Regions from separate parts of the Homo sapiens genome. Here region 1 is linked to region 2. Evidence: promoter capture Hi-C in 16 types of primary human blood cells and fetal thymus (Javierre and others, 2016). All regions are on one chromosome and are shown on one strand. The core of a region is centred on a gene start or on the middle of the fragment in contact, and the rest is flanking DNA. Distances in the headings are between cores, read along the strand shown. Region 1 holds the start of EGF (epidermal growth factor). Region 2 holds the start of RRH (retinal pigment epithelium-derived rhodopsin homolog).

The links. The method cuts DNA at HindIII sites, captures the fragments that hold promoters and counts their contacts. A CHiCAGO score of 5 or more calls a contact.
Region 1: a contact is called between the fragment with the promoter of EGF here and the fragment with the promoter of RRH in region 2, in 1 of 17 cell types (megakaryocytes). The highest score is 5.3, in megakaryocytes.

The regions. Positions count from the first base shown.
Region 1 is chr4:109,908,960-109,915,106 of GRCh38, reverse strand. EGF (epidermal growth factor) reads right to left here and starts at 2,224. Exons shown (of 24, transcript NM_001963.6): 1 at 1,645-2,224. The coding sequence starts at 1,771. The HindIII fragment of the contact is 2,188 bases long and covers 1,375-3,562 here.
Region 2 is chr4:109,825,811-109,832,111 of GRCh38, reverse strand. RRH (retinal pigment epithelium-derived rhodopsin homolog) reads right to left here and starts at 4,140. Exons shown (of 7, transcript NM_006583.5): 1 at 3,979-4,140. The coding sequence starts at 4,084. The HindIII fragment of the contact is 4,893 bases long and covers 1-4,290 here.

The DNA of each region.
Region 1 (6,147 bases), core at 975-3,474, 85 kb before region 2:
GAGCCACCAGAGGTGGCAAGGAAAACAAGGCATAGACTTGCTTGCCAGCAGGAATCAGACTATTCTGAGATCCTAGAGCCATCCATAAAAGCTCATTTTTGTAATTTCTTGGGTTCTGCTTCAGCAACCTGGGTTCTTCTTTCCTAGCTTCTGGCTGCCTGATAGATCGGCCCAACCATCACCCCTCACATCCCATGCAAATGACAGTGCCCAACTCTAGATATTTGCCAACTACTCCACGGAAAATTCTCCCACCCCAAAGAGAGTCCAGTCCATTTGACATAACTGTATACAGAAGTTTTACTTCTGTCTCCAACAGCTGAGTCTGAGGTTCATGGGGCCATTTTTGTCATTTGTCACCCTCTTTTTGTTGCTGTTCTCTAGGACTATGTCATTAGCAGATCAGAGAAAGACGCCTCATTCATACACAAGAATTTGCTGAGTACACACTGTGGAAGCAGGAATGTCCTAGGTGCTGGGAACATAGAGATCACTAGGATTAAGTCTTTATTTCAAATACCCTAGAGTTCTGCTCACCTGTTACAAGGAGTGCTACCTGAGAACAGAGTCCAGAGATTCTGAGCAAAAGCACCTGATTTCCTCATCGGGAACTTCCTTAATGGGAGAGCCAGGACAGCAGCCTAGCTTTGGCAGTTTGGCTCCATTCTGCTCTCTTTATTCAAACTATTGCCTATTGTGTACTGTCTTCCATAGGTGTCTCTTCTGGAAACTGTACTGTGTTTTCCCCCTCAATCTACCTCTTTTTAAAAGCCAGACGCCATCTCAAAAGGGCAAGCTGATAAAAATGGAATGTCGGGGCAGCTATAACCTCTCATCAACAAAGGCGGCTGCCGTGTCTAAGCAGCAGGTTGGAGGCTCACCCAAGGATTAAATAAATGAATTAACAGTTAGAGAGAGAATGTTTTTCAGGCAATATCCTTTGGCAGGATTGTAATTCGCATTCAGTCAAGCTCCCATTTCCCCTTGGCAAAAAATTCATTTAATATGAGAGGACAGTGTGGCTTATTTACCCATTATCATATTTGGCAGTTCTTAAAGTTGCAATGCACCTGTTACTAAAACTCCGGAGTTGTGTCAGAGCCTCAGAAACAGTAAGAGTGGGGAGAAAGTGAAGGAGGTTGAAATTGAAATTTAGGTTAATTTTCACAACTACCTTTGTTCACAGTTCCCTTTCCATTTTTCACTAATTTTTAGAACTTCTGAATTCTTACAAGTTATCAGAAGGAAGGATTTTTTTCTTTGTGGCTTAAGAGTTTCAAACAGACAAACAAAAAATCAACCATCTGTTTCCCTAATTTCCAAGCAATTAGCCAGGTGTTAATTACTCCTCTTGTCAGAGTAAAAGCTGAAGCTTCCATGAAATGTTCTGCTAGTTTAAAATGAGGCATATTCATTCACTTATACACAGAAGTACAGTTTGAGAGTTATGAAGTTTTATAGTTGGTAGCAGATTAGCTCTAATGGCCAGTAAGAAAATAAACATGCATCAGAAAACAAAAATTAAGCAACTATACATACCCAAAGACAAACTTTGTTAAATGCCCAAGTATACCAGATTGAACCAACAGGGATGTGGGGGCAGTTTCCCGGAGACCTGGAGCACCTTTTCATTGGAGTACTTACCCACACAAGTAGAATTCCCATTTCCTGCGAGAGTACCTTCAGGACAGCTCCAGTGCTGCGGTGCTGAGAGACTAACAAAACTAAATTTTGAAACTACTGGCAACAGAATGATAAGAGTGAGCAGCATAATCTTGATGAGTTTGAACTTTCAAAAGAAAACAGCTTGATTTTGCTGGAGCATGGCCCGGGCAAGGTGAGTATGATTGACCCCAGATGCGGCTGCCTGAGCGGAGGCCTCAGCCCTGGGGCATCTTTTACTCTCCTGTTGTGCTGTTGTCCTCCAAGCTCTTTCTTCAACTGAGAGACCTTCTGAATGCAGCCTGCCAAGGGAAGCCACAGGAAAGATTTCTTTATCTATGTTTCTTTGGAAGCCAGTAAGAAATACCTGACACCCTTATGACAAATTTCACAGAGTTTAACAGCCCTGCTCTGGCTGACTTCACTGTGACAGAGCAAGGCAAAGGCTTAGAGAGGAAAAAGAAAGGAAGAACTGATGGAAAGTTCCAGCTACAACCCTTGGATTGGGGCTGAAAGAAGAAATATGGAGATACGATTCCTCTCCCAACAGTTTCTCTTTTTGAAAAGTGGAATGACTCAGCTTTGCTTTTTAAAGCTCTTCAGGCTCCACCTCCTTTCCTTTAGTGACACTTGAGTGAGCCTCTGTTTGCAAATGCGAATGTGGGCAATTCCTCCACACAGGAAAGCAGGGATGACTGCCAAAGAGGAGATAACTCGCTACTCACCATAAATATCCTGGGCAGAACTGGGAGAGAGGAGTTGGGGGCTGTGGAGGTGCTCATGGTGAATGGCGGGAACTGCTAAATATTGGCTATGTTTTAATGTCTGGAAGGATGGAGACAAAATTAAACCATGCAGTATAAATCAATAATAAGCAGCACTGTTGATAGTTTGGATTGATAATAATTGATCATTCACATGAGCAATAGTAAAGATAGTTCACCTTCAGCCCATTATTTGAACGAAATGTCAATACCAGTGCACATTCCAGGAGCTTTATCTTATTTTTCTCTTTCTCCTGTATAGTTTATAGCGGAATTTGAAAGATTATTCTTTCCAAATCAAAGGGAAATCCCTGAGGCCAAATGAAGAGATACAGTATGGACAGACACCTTTTCTTTCAGCATGAGCATGATAAAACATCACGAGGGGCCAGGAGTGCAGAGAAAGGAGTGGATTGTTATTATAGGGACATTGGAAAAAATAAGCTAACAGTGCAAAGCTGGGAAGCACTGGAAATCCAGCACAGAGGAATGCTTTTCCTTCTAAGATAATTTAGGCTTTTTTTTTTTCACATCTCTGTGATAGAAAATAAGAACTGGACGTATCTGTTAGCTGTCTCCTCAACCACTTTCTACTTGGAGCAACAGTGGTTATTTCTTCAGGAGTACAACTAGGGCCCAAAAATACCCAGAAGGCAAACAACTTATAGCAGATTTGATGCACGATGGAAATTTCTGTCAGTTTACTCCATCCTGGAAAATGGACTTTCATTTAAGTTACCCTGAGGTAGTGTTCCAAGTGCTGGTCAAAAATGTACGTAAAAGCAATAGTCACAAAAACAACTGTCACACTAGTGAACACCCCATTACAGAGGAGAACAGACTAACTCTAAGCCTTTTACTCATACTTAATTATGTCCTGATTATTCTCCAAAGACTGGATCACTTTCCTGAAACAGCTTAAGTCAGGATTTCTCCTATTTCAGCCAGCCTCTGCCAGGCAGCTCTGAACCCTTACAGGAGAAACAGACCCTGGGGAAGGGGGAAAGAGAAGTCCTTTAGGTGGTTATGCGGAATATTCCATTGCTTTCTGGACTGAGTCAGACTCAAGACTCATAATGAGCATCCTACAAATAACCTGCACTGACTCTTCGAGTTACTAACTTTATTAATAAGCTTCCCTTTCAGCACAATACATTGCCAGCATCCCAGATGACAGCAATGGAAGGGGCTTAGAGGACAATCAAGCATCACGCTGTGTCAGTGGAGTGGAGTGGAGAGAATGATATGAAGACAAACATGAAATGATCCACAGCTCTGTTCTGTTTGGATTTGGAATCTCTCATATTATTTTTGGTTGGAAAAAGGTTTGCTTTCTTAATTACATGTCACCTGGGCTAATGTTGTCATTAATGTTGAGTACAAGCTCCCTAGGAGATGACGGAGTCAACAGAGGTATAGCAGATGCTATGGCTGATGACTGATGATGAAAATCAATCGCAGCTAATTCATCATCTACAGTTGCCCAGATAGCAAAATCATAGGACAGAGCTACCCAACTGGGAAGGATTTACAGAGATATTTAATAAGTTTATATTCCAGCCGGGCGTGGTGGCTCATGCCTGTAATCCCAGCACTTTGGGAGGCCAAGGTGGGCAGATCACACTTCAGGAGATCTAGACCATCCTGGCTAACACGGTGAAACCCCATCTCTACTAAAAATACAAAAAGTTAGCCAGGCGTGGTGGCACATGCCTATAGTCCCAGCTACTCATGAGGCTGAGGCAGGAGAATTGCTTGAACCCAGGAGGCGGAGGTTGCAGTGAGCCGATAACACGCCACTGCACTCCAGCCTGGGTGACAGAGCAAGACTCTATCTCAAAAAAATAAATAAATAAATAAATAATAAGTTTATGTTCCTACTTCTGGATAAAACTGAACCTTTCTTGCACTCAAGAAAGGTTGAAATAAACTCTTTATTTTAAAATTGATAAGAAATGCACTATAACTTATAGGTTTGAGCTGCCAAATATGATTTAATTTCTGGAATTGAGTTAAAGTTAACTAATTCATTCGTTAATTAAACAGCTATATATGATAGAGCACTGCCTGGAGTACAAGAAACAGAAGTCGTAGTCCTTAACATCAAGAGCTTGCTGAGGTTGATTAACAGCAACAACAGAGAGTATGAGTATGAGCTAATGAATGACCAGCCACCAAGTACATGACTGGTCACAAACTGGGTGTCAGGAAAGAAGGAGGGGAGCTGCAATGTACTTTGGACTACAGCATGCAGTGTGAAGCTCTGTGGAGTAATTAGGATGCCTCAGAAGGACATAGAGAAGGAGAAGGGTCATGCTGACAGGATGTGGAACAGGAATGGACAAAAATTTTTTTTCTTATTTAATAGTTCCTTAGATCCTGAAGGGACACAGCTGGGTGGGGGAAACCCTGCTGGTAGGTCAGTAAGAAAGTTAGACATTAATAGCAAGGAGATAGCTCTGAATGGTTATAAGTGTGAGTGGACAGCAATAGCTGGAAGGGACTATTGGGACATATGTTTATGTGTGCTTGTCATAAAATTCTAACTTTTCCGATGAAATTTCCTCATTGAAACACAGGGCACCTAGTTCTCCTGGGTTATGTATTTACTGTGCTCAGCACCTCTTACTAATCATTGCCACCGCCACACCATCAACAGATTACTTCCTTAATTACAGCATGTCTCCTCATCATTCTCCCAGGTATTTTAGTTTCTAAAAATGTAAAGGTTTAGGGAAAGAATTCTGGATTTCCCAAAACAATCTTTCCCTACCCTTCAGTTCTGCTCAACCTATGAGAAGTAGAGTACCATTAAATGAAGAGCACTTCAAGTGCTCTACAAGGCTTGACAAGAGAACTAAAGATACTGTAAAATGCATATAATGAAACACTACTTGCTGGAAGTAATGAAAATGCAAACCACTATTTGCAGCTCTTATTATATGTATAAAACTGTGAATCAGGCAGGGCACGGTGGCTCACGCCTGTAATCCCAACACTTTGGGAGGCTGAGGTGGGTGGATCACAAGGTCAGAAGTTCAAGACCAGCCTGGCCAATATGGTGAAACTCCATCTCTACTAAAAATACAAAACAAAACAAAAAACTGTGAATTAGTATCCTCTTTGCTTGCCACTCAAAACTGGAAAGATGTATAAAATAGATGGTGGAGAGAAAATATTTGAGTTGGTGACATATGGATTATTTCAATTTTAAATACCAGAGAAACAAAATAAATTAAGTTGCTTTCCTTTGGTTTTCCCAGCCTGATTTCTAATTAAGATGCATTCTTTTTCATTTTCATTAAAGTAAAATTTATATAAAGTGAACAGATCTTAAGTGTACAATCTGATGAGTTGTGATAAATGTATATATACACTTCATCAATACCTCAAACTGTCTTTTAAAAAACACCATTTTTGGTAGAAATTTCCAAGCATAGAACATTTCCTTTACCGTCAAAATTTTCCATATACTCCTTCCAGTGAATCCCGCTCATAGGTAACCATTGTTCTTCTTTCTCTCATCATAGATAAGTTTTGTCTGTTCTTGAACTTTATATAAAGGCAATCATACAGCACGTTTAACTTTGGGTCTTGCTTCTTTTGTTTAACATAATGTTTTTGAGACTCTTGTAGGTTGTGCATATCAGTACTTTATTCTTTTTTATTGCTGGGAAGTATTTTTGTATGAATATAGTACAATTTGTTTATCTATTCTCTT
Region 2 (6,301 bases), core at 2,891-5,390:
AGACTAAAGGAGGGTTGTGCAACAAGCAGGAATAGAGTTGAGTTCCCCATCAAGAAAAGAATTACTTGGTGATCAATCCCCAACTATTGTCAGAGAGGGACAGTTTCCAAGCACCAACATACAACATCAGCTCAGTAAAAACTTTTAACATATCTTGGCACTTCAGTCAGAACTTCTGCCTTAGCCTGTTAAACTAACCTTCCAGATTCCTGTTCTTTTCCTCTCCTTGCTTCTGGCAGAATCAGCTTGCTATAACATAGACTTAACCATGGTTCTTCTCCTCCCGAAAACTTGTAGTATTTCCCACTGGCTGTGGGATAACAATCCAAATTTCCCAACCTGATATTCCAGGCTCTTTGCCTCATCTGTTGTCACTCTCTAGAAGCAAATTTCTACACTTGTCAAGTGAACTCTCCATTCTAGTTTTTGCCCAGATACACCATGCTTGACTCATATTTCTCCCACTTGGAGCACCCTGCTCCTTCTCTTTTCCTATCCAAATGCCATCCATCCTTCAAACTTCAGTTCAAGCCCCTAAGCCTTATCCTACCCACACTATCCTCTCCTCCCTAAATTTCCAAACTACTTGCTTATGATTAACTGAGTCTTATGTAACACTATATAATTTAACTGTTACTTTTCCTTGTCTTTTCATGTGGATTTCAGGCTCCTCATGATTTCTGTGGTTTTTGAATACGTGACATACAGCAGATTTATTTAATAAGTGGGCTACAACTAAAACCCATATTGCTTAATTTCTATCATTCCTTCAAGATAATTAGCACACAATGACAGCAAATTTGATGATTCTTTGGCCCTATTTTTAGCATCTAGGATTGTAGCATGTATACAAGATATACTCCGAAGAATTTAATGAAATGAAGACTCTTTCTGGGCTAGCTACAAATTCAATGACTTTTTAAAGTTAGATAAAAACAGTGCAGTAAATTGCTGCCTACCAAGTACGCAACCAGAATAAAGGAACTATAATTCTGGGAGTCTTAGAAATAATGGGGGTTATGAACTAAACAGTTTAGCCCTTTTCTCTATTCTCTCTGCAGCTGTACCAAGCACACTGCCTTGTTTCCACAGCTGTAGGTCTTCTAATGAGTATACAAAAGATCACCTAGTTGTTAGATTTTAGTTAAGTCCCATTTCACAGTCAGTCTAAACACTAAGTAGCACTTGATGTTGATTTCTCCTTCACTCTTGAAACATTTTCCTTCTTGTCTTCCGTGACTTCCGTGCAATCTCTTCAACAGACCCTTCTTGATCTACTTCCTGGCCTTTCTTTCTCCATCTATGTCTTATTAAATATGTGCATTGTCCAACCTTCTGTCCTAGATCCCTTTCTTTTCACATTTAACACATACTCTGAGTAATTTCTTCATACCCAAGGCTATACCCTGATATTTTTCAGCCTCCGGACACTCAAACCCATGTGTCCAGCTTTTTATTGGACACCTCTCAAACTGAACTGAGAGACTTTTTCTCCTGCCTCAAACCTGTTCTTCCCCAGGTGTGTTCCCATCTGATGAAGAGCATCACCATCTATTCAGTGGCTCAAAAAAGAAACCTAGGCATCATCTTTGATACTTCTCTCCTTCTCCCACAATCCCAACATCCAATCATCAATTCCACCTTCTGGCTCTTGAATGTATCTACTTTTTTCTGTCCCCACTGCGATTACTCCCTCCTCAGAATCACTGCAATGGCCTCCTATGTGGTCCCTTAGCTACCACTATAGCACATTTCTAAAACACAAATCAGATCATGTCACTCCCATTTCAAACCCTTCAGTGACTCCCTGTCACCTTTAAAACTTACACGGCTCATCACTGTCTGGTACTCAGCCATCTTTTTCAACCTCTCACCCTTCATTTTACAGTTCAAACATAATGATTTATTTCAGATCCTCAAATTCACCATGTCCTCTTACCTCCCAGCCTTAACTGGGGAAAGGGAGAGTGCTCAAGGACACTAAATTAACAAAATGTCTGTTGCACTGGAAGTTGTAACAGTTTATAGGAGCCAAACTATAAATGAAAGATCAAATTAAAAATTAAATAAAAAATCTAAATAGGCCCTTGGTAAAAGTAACGAATGAAATAAATGCTTTCACTACACCCTTTCCTCATAGTTTTGGTTTTGATTTGCAACTTTAAGTGAGTTTTGTTAAAGGAGGAAAGTTAGGGGATCTAAAGAAAAATAGATGCTTGATACAGGGGCAGAACAAAAGCATAAAGAGTTCAGCTATGCTTCCTTCAGTGGATCCACCAGAAACACAAACAACACACACTCATTGTATACCTTGATAAAGCTGACTCTTGGATTTATATGTGAGGGCTCTAGAACCAAAATGCCTGGGTTCAAATCCTGGTGTAGCTGCTTAGTAAATGTGTGTGCTGGACAAGTTTCTTAAGCTCTTCATCTGTATAAACTAGAGAAATAAAACTGAAGAGTAACTTACTAAATTAGTGTAAGGATGAATTATTCTGTATGTGTAAGGTTTTAGAACAGTGCTTGGTATATAGCAAGTATTCAAATGATAACATTAGTAGCAGTAGTAGTAAGATTACTATTATTATTACTGTTACAGAGATAAGAACTAAATAGAATATTTTCTGCATGCTAATTTTGTAACCAGGTCAAAAAAGGATAGTTTTGGTTGTTTTTTGGATTTTTTTTTTTTTTGGTCATCTACAAATAACTAACTAAACCAAACACTTGTATACAAAGTATTTCCATGTAATTGTTAGGAGATTTTCTCAGTCTTTTTTGCAATTACAAAAAAACTAGAACTTGTCTAGTACTTATCATAGAGGTATTCAAATGAACGAGATAACGTCACTAAAATCGCAAAACTTAACTGAGGAACTCAATTTCCAGTACTAGAAGTAATACGCTGAATTATAAGGAAGAAACGTAAACAATTATAAACTGGGTATAGGATGGTGTGTTATACTTTTCACTCTACTTTTGAATGTTTGAAAATTTTTATAAAAGTCAATCCAAAAAATAATGAACTCAATATAAGAGTTACTTCTACAACTCGTTAGAGTATAAAGTTGAAAATTAAGTGATTGCTCAATATAAAAGTTACACAATTCAATGATACATTAAAAAGATAAAAAGTTTCTGTCATTCCCCCATCCCTTTTTTTCTGCAAACAATCCTTTACATCAATGAGTGTGTAGGGAGGAAAGGGAAAAAGAAACAAATATTTGTCCAACACCTACTATATGGCATTTATGTGTCACTTAATTTTACTCCTTATAACAATCATGACAGATAACTTATTCTTATCCTTGTTTTACAGATGAGAAAATGGAAGAACAAAAAGGGAAGATACATGCTCACAGTTGCAAATATACTAAAAGATGAAATCCAAAACTCAAGAGTTTTCCAATAAGCATTCTGGAACAAGCTGAATTTTCAGACTCTGTCCTCAATGACAATATACCCTGCTCTGTCTTCTTAGGACTTTTTCTTTCCAGAACCTTTAAGTTCTTAGCTAAATTCTACCACCAAGAACAAAAATATGAGGGTTATGTATAAGAATAGTAAATGACATAAAAATATGTTTTTGCCATGGTGCATACTCTTCTCCAATAAAAACTTTAACAATCCAATAATCAAATACATAGATTTTTATGAAAGAACTATTTATCACATAGAAAACTTTTCTCAGCCCCACTTCACTGCTCTTATTTACCAAAATTCAAAATAACCTGTGGCAATGGCCATCACTAACAATGCTTTCCCTTATTCTTTCACCCACATTATCTTATTTGATCTTTACAGCCCAGAAATAGAGTATCATCATCCTCATTTACCAACGAGCAAGCCAAGTCAGGATAAATGACTTGTCAAGGTTGGCCAATAATATGGAACTTGAAACAATGCATGCCTTATGCTGAAAACTTCTGCCTTTCTTCACCCATTCTAAAGAAAAATAACTTACTTAAATATCCATACCTGCCATAATCAAGTAAGTTGCAACAATATTGTGTTCAGTCTGTGAAAAGACCGAGCCATCTTCATTTTTAGAGTCTGAACTGTTGCCTAAATTATTTCTTAGCATTTTGGAGGGAAGATACCGAAACACCCTTCATAATAAGCCTTCGATAATTATGAACTGCTTTATGAGCTACTGAGGAAAGATTTTTTAGGACCAATCATTTCCACTTAGAGACCTCAAAGAAGGGCCTTTTCATAGAGGCCCTCCCTTAACAAATTTAATTGGGCTAAAGAGGAAAGGACTTTAATTCCCAGAATAAGGGAAAAGCTTATTAGCAAAACAAAAAGAAATACCAAGCACCACACATTTTAACCTATTTGGGCATCAGTCTTCTATCTAAGGAGATTATCAAGCACACACATCCCATTTAACAATAAACAAACTCAGGAAATCAGTATAGGAGCCAGCCTTAGTCCTCTAAAACTATTCGGATTAAGGTCCCTGTTTTCTGTTGACCATTCAAGTCTTTCCATTTCGGCTCCTTTTGTTGTTTTTTTTTTCTTAACAATTTAAATATTAGTGACAAAGAAGTAGTCTCCTTCCTACTTCCAAATCTCACTCTCCTAAAGGTACCAGTATTGTTTGGTGCATATCCTTTCTTAGGCTTTTCTCTGCTTATACACATATTCATACAAGTGTTTCAGGTTTCCTCCACTTTCTTCTTGTAAATAAAAATGAGGGAAAAAAATAAGTACAAATGTATATATATAATGCAACTTGTTTTCCCATAAGGCTGTATTATAATATCCAAGTTAATAAACCCAGAATCTAATAAAGTCTAATTTATTAGTAGCTATGTATTTCATAGCATGGATATAATATGATCAACTCCACCATCCGTTAATTTCCCCTATAGTTTGATATGCACATGAGTAATTAATATTATCTGATGATAGTAATCATTGTATACTTTGCCAGAGTATCTGAATTCAATCACTGATATTGTAAAGTACAGAATAAAAATATTCTGGATTATCACATTACAACCTGAAAACCAACCTGAGCATGTTTTGTTAGAATAATAAGGTATCCCTATTACCTTTTTTCCCATATTCTTTATGCCATTAACATTATTAAAATCTGATTCTCCTCAGTTTCCTAAAATCAGTAAACATTAGAGAAATGCTTAGATGCACCAAAGTTAACAGTGTAAGCATAAAACAGAACCACTAGAGGGCTATATTTACCCACTTAGTTTAATTTTATAAAAATCCTAGAATGGCACAGCAGAAACCTAAGATAATCCTTTTGCTTCAGTTCTCTTGCCTGTGTATAAACTCAAGATGAACAGGTTGATTTATCTGTCCCAAATCTTATAGCTACCAGTACTCACATTTTTATAAATGTAATATTGTTATACCTATACTAGAAAAGCGAATCTCGTCAGTATTGTTTTCAAATGACCCTAGAGCAAAAAACATAATACCCAAGAGGAAATCACTCCCTTTAAAAAGTCTTTGTCTTTTCTTTCATTCAATATGCAAAACAAAACTTAAAATTTTTGAATTTGCTTTGGGTCATACTACCTTCCTTTTCTGTAATAAGTTATACCTAGTTGTAGCATCCATGAAAAATTTTCCAGAAATAATTATTTCTAAGAACTGAAAAATATATAATTTCAGATAGTCAGCTTTCTGCTGCAGATGAAAGTTTTGATATGAGTGAGGTAGGTGCATTTGAAGTTCTTTTTTATGCTTCCTTCATGGGTGATACAGAAAAGCTATATTGGGATAAGGCTTAGAAATACATGTGAATTTGATTCAAAATGAAATGCCTCAAAAAAACCCAGAAACTAGGCCAGGCGCAGTGGCTCACACCTGTAATCCCAGCACTTTGGGAGGCCAAAGCAGGCGGATCACCTGAGGTCAGGAATTCGAGACCAGCCTGACCAACATGGAGAAACCCCATCTCTACTAAAAATACAAAATTAGCCGGGCATGGTGGCGCATGCCTGTAATCCCAGCTACTTGGGAGGCTGAGGCAGGAGAATCGCTTGAACCCGGGAGGTAGAGGTTGCAGTGAGCCGACATTGCACCATTGCACTCCAGCCTGGGCAACAAGAACAAAACTCCGTCTCAAAAAATAATAATAATAAATAAACAAATAAATAAACCCAGAAACTATAAGGAAAAAAAAGGAAAAGATGTGGAAATAAAAGCTTAAAGATGGACAATGAAAAAAAGATATACATAAGCTAAACGGTAAAATTTCCAACTGGTTTGTCTACTGATCTATATGTTATTTCCATTATTGCCATTTTAGATTTATTTTTAATGTTAA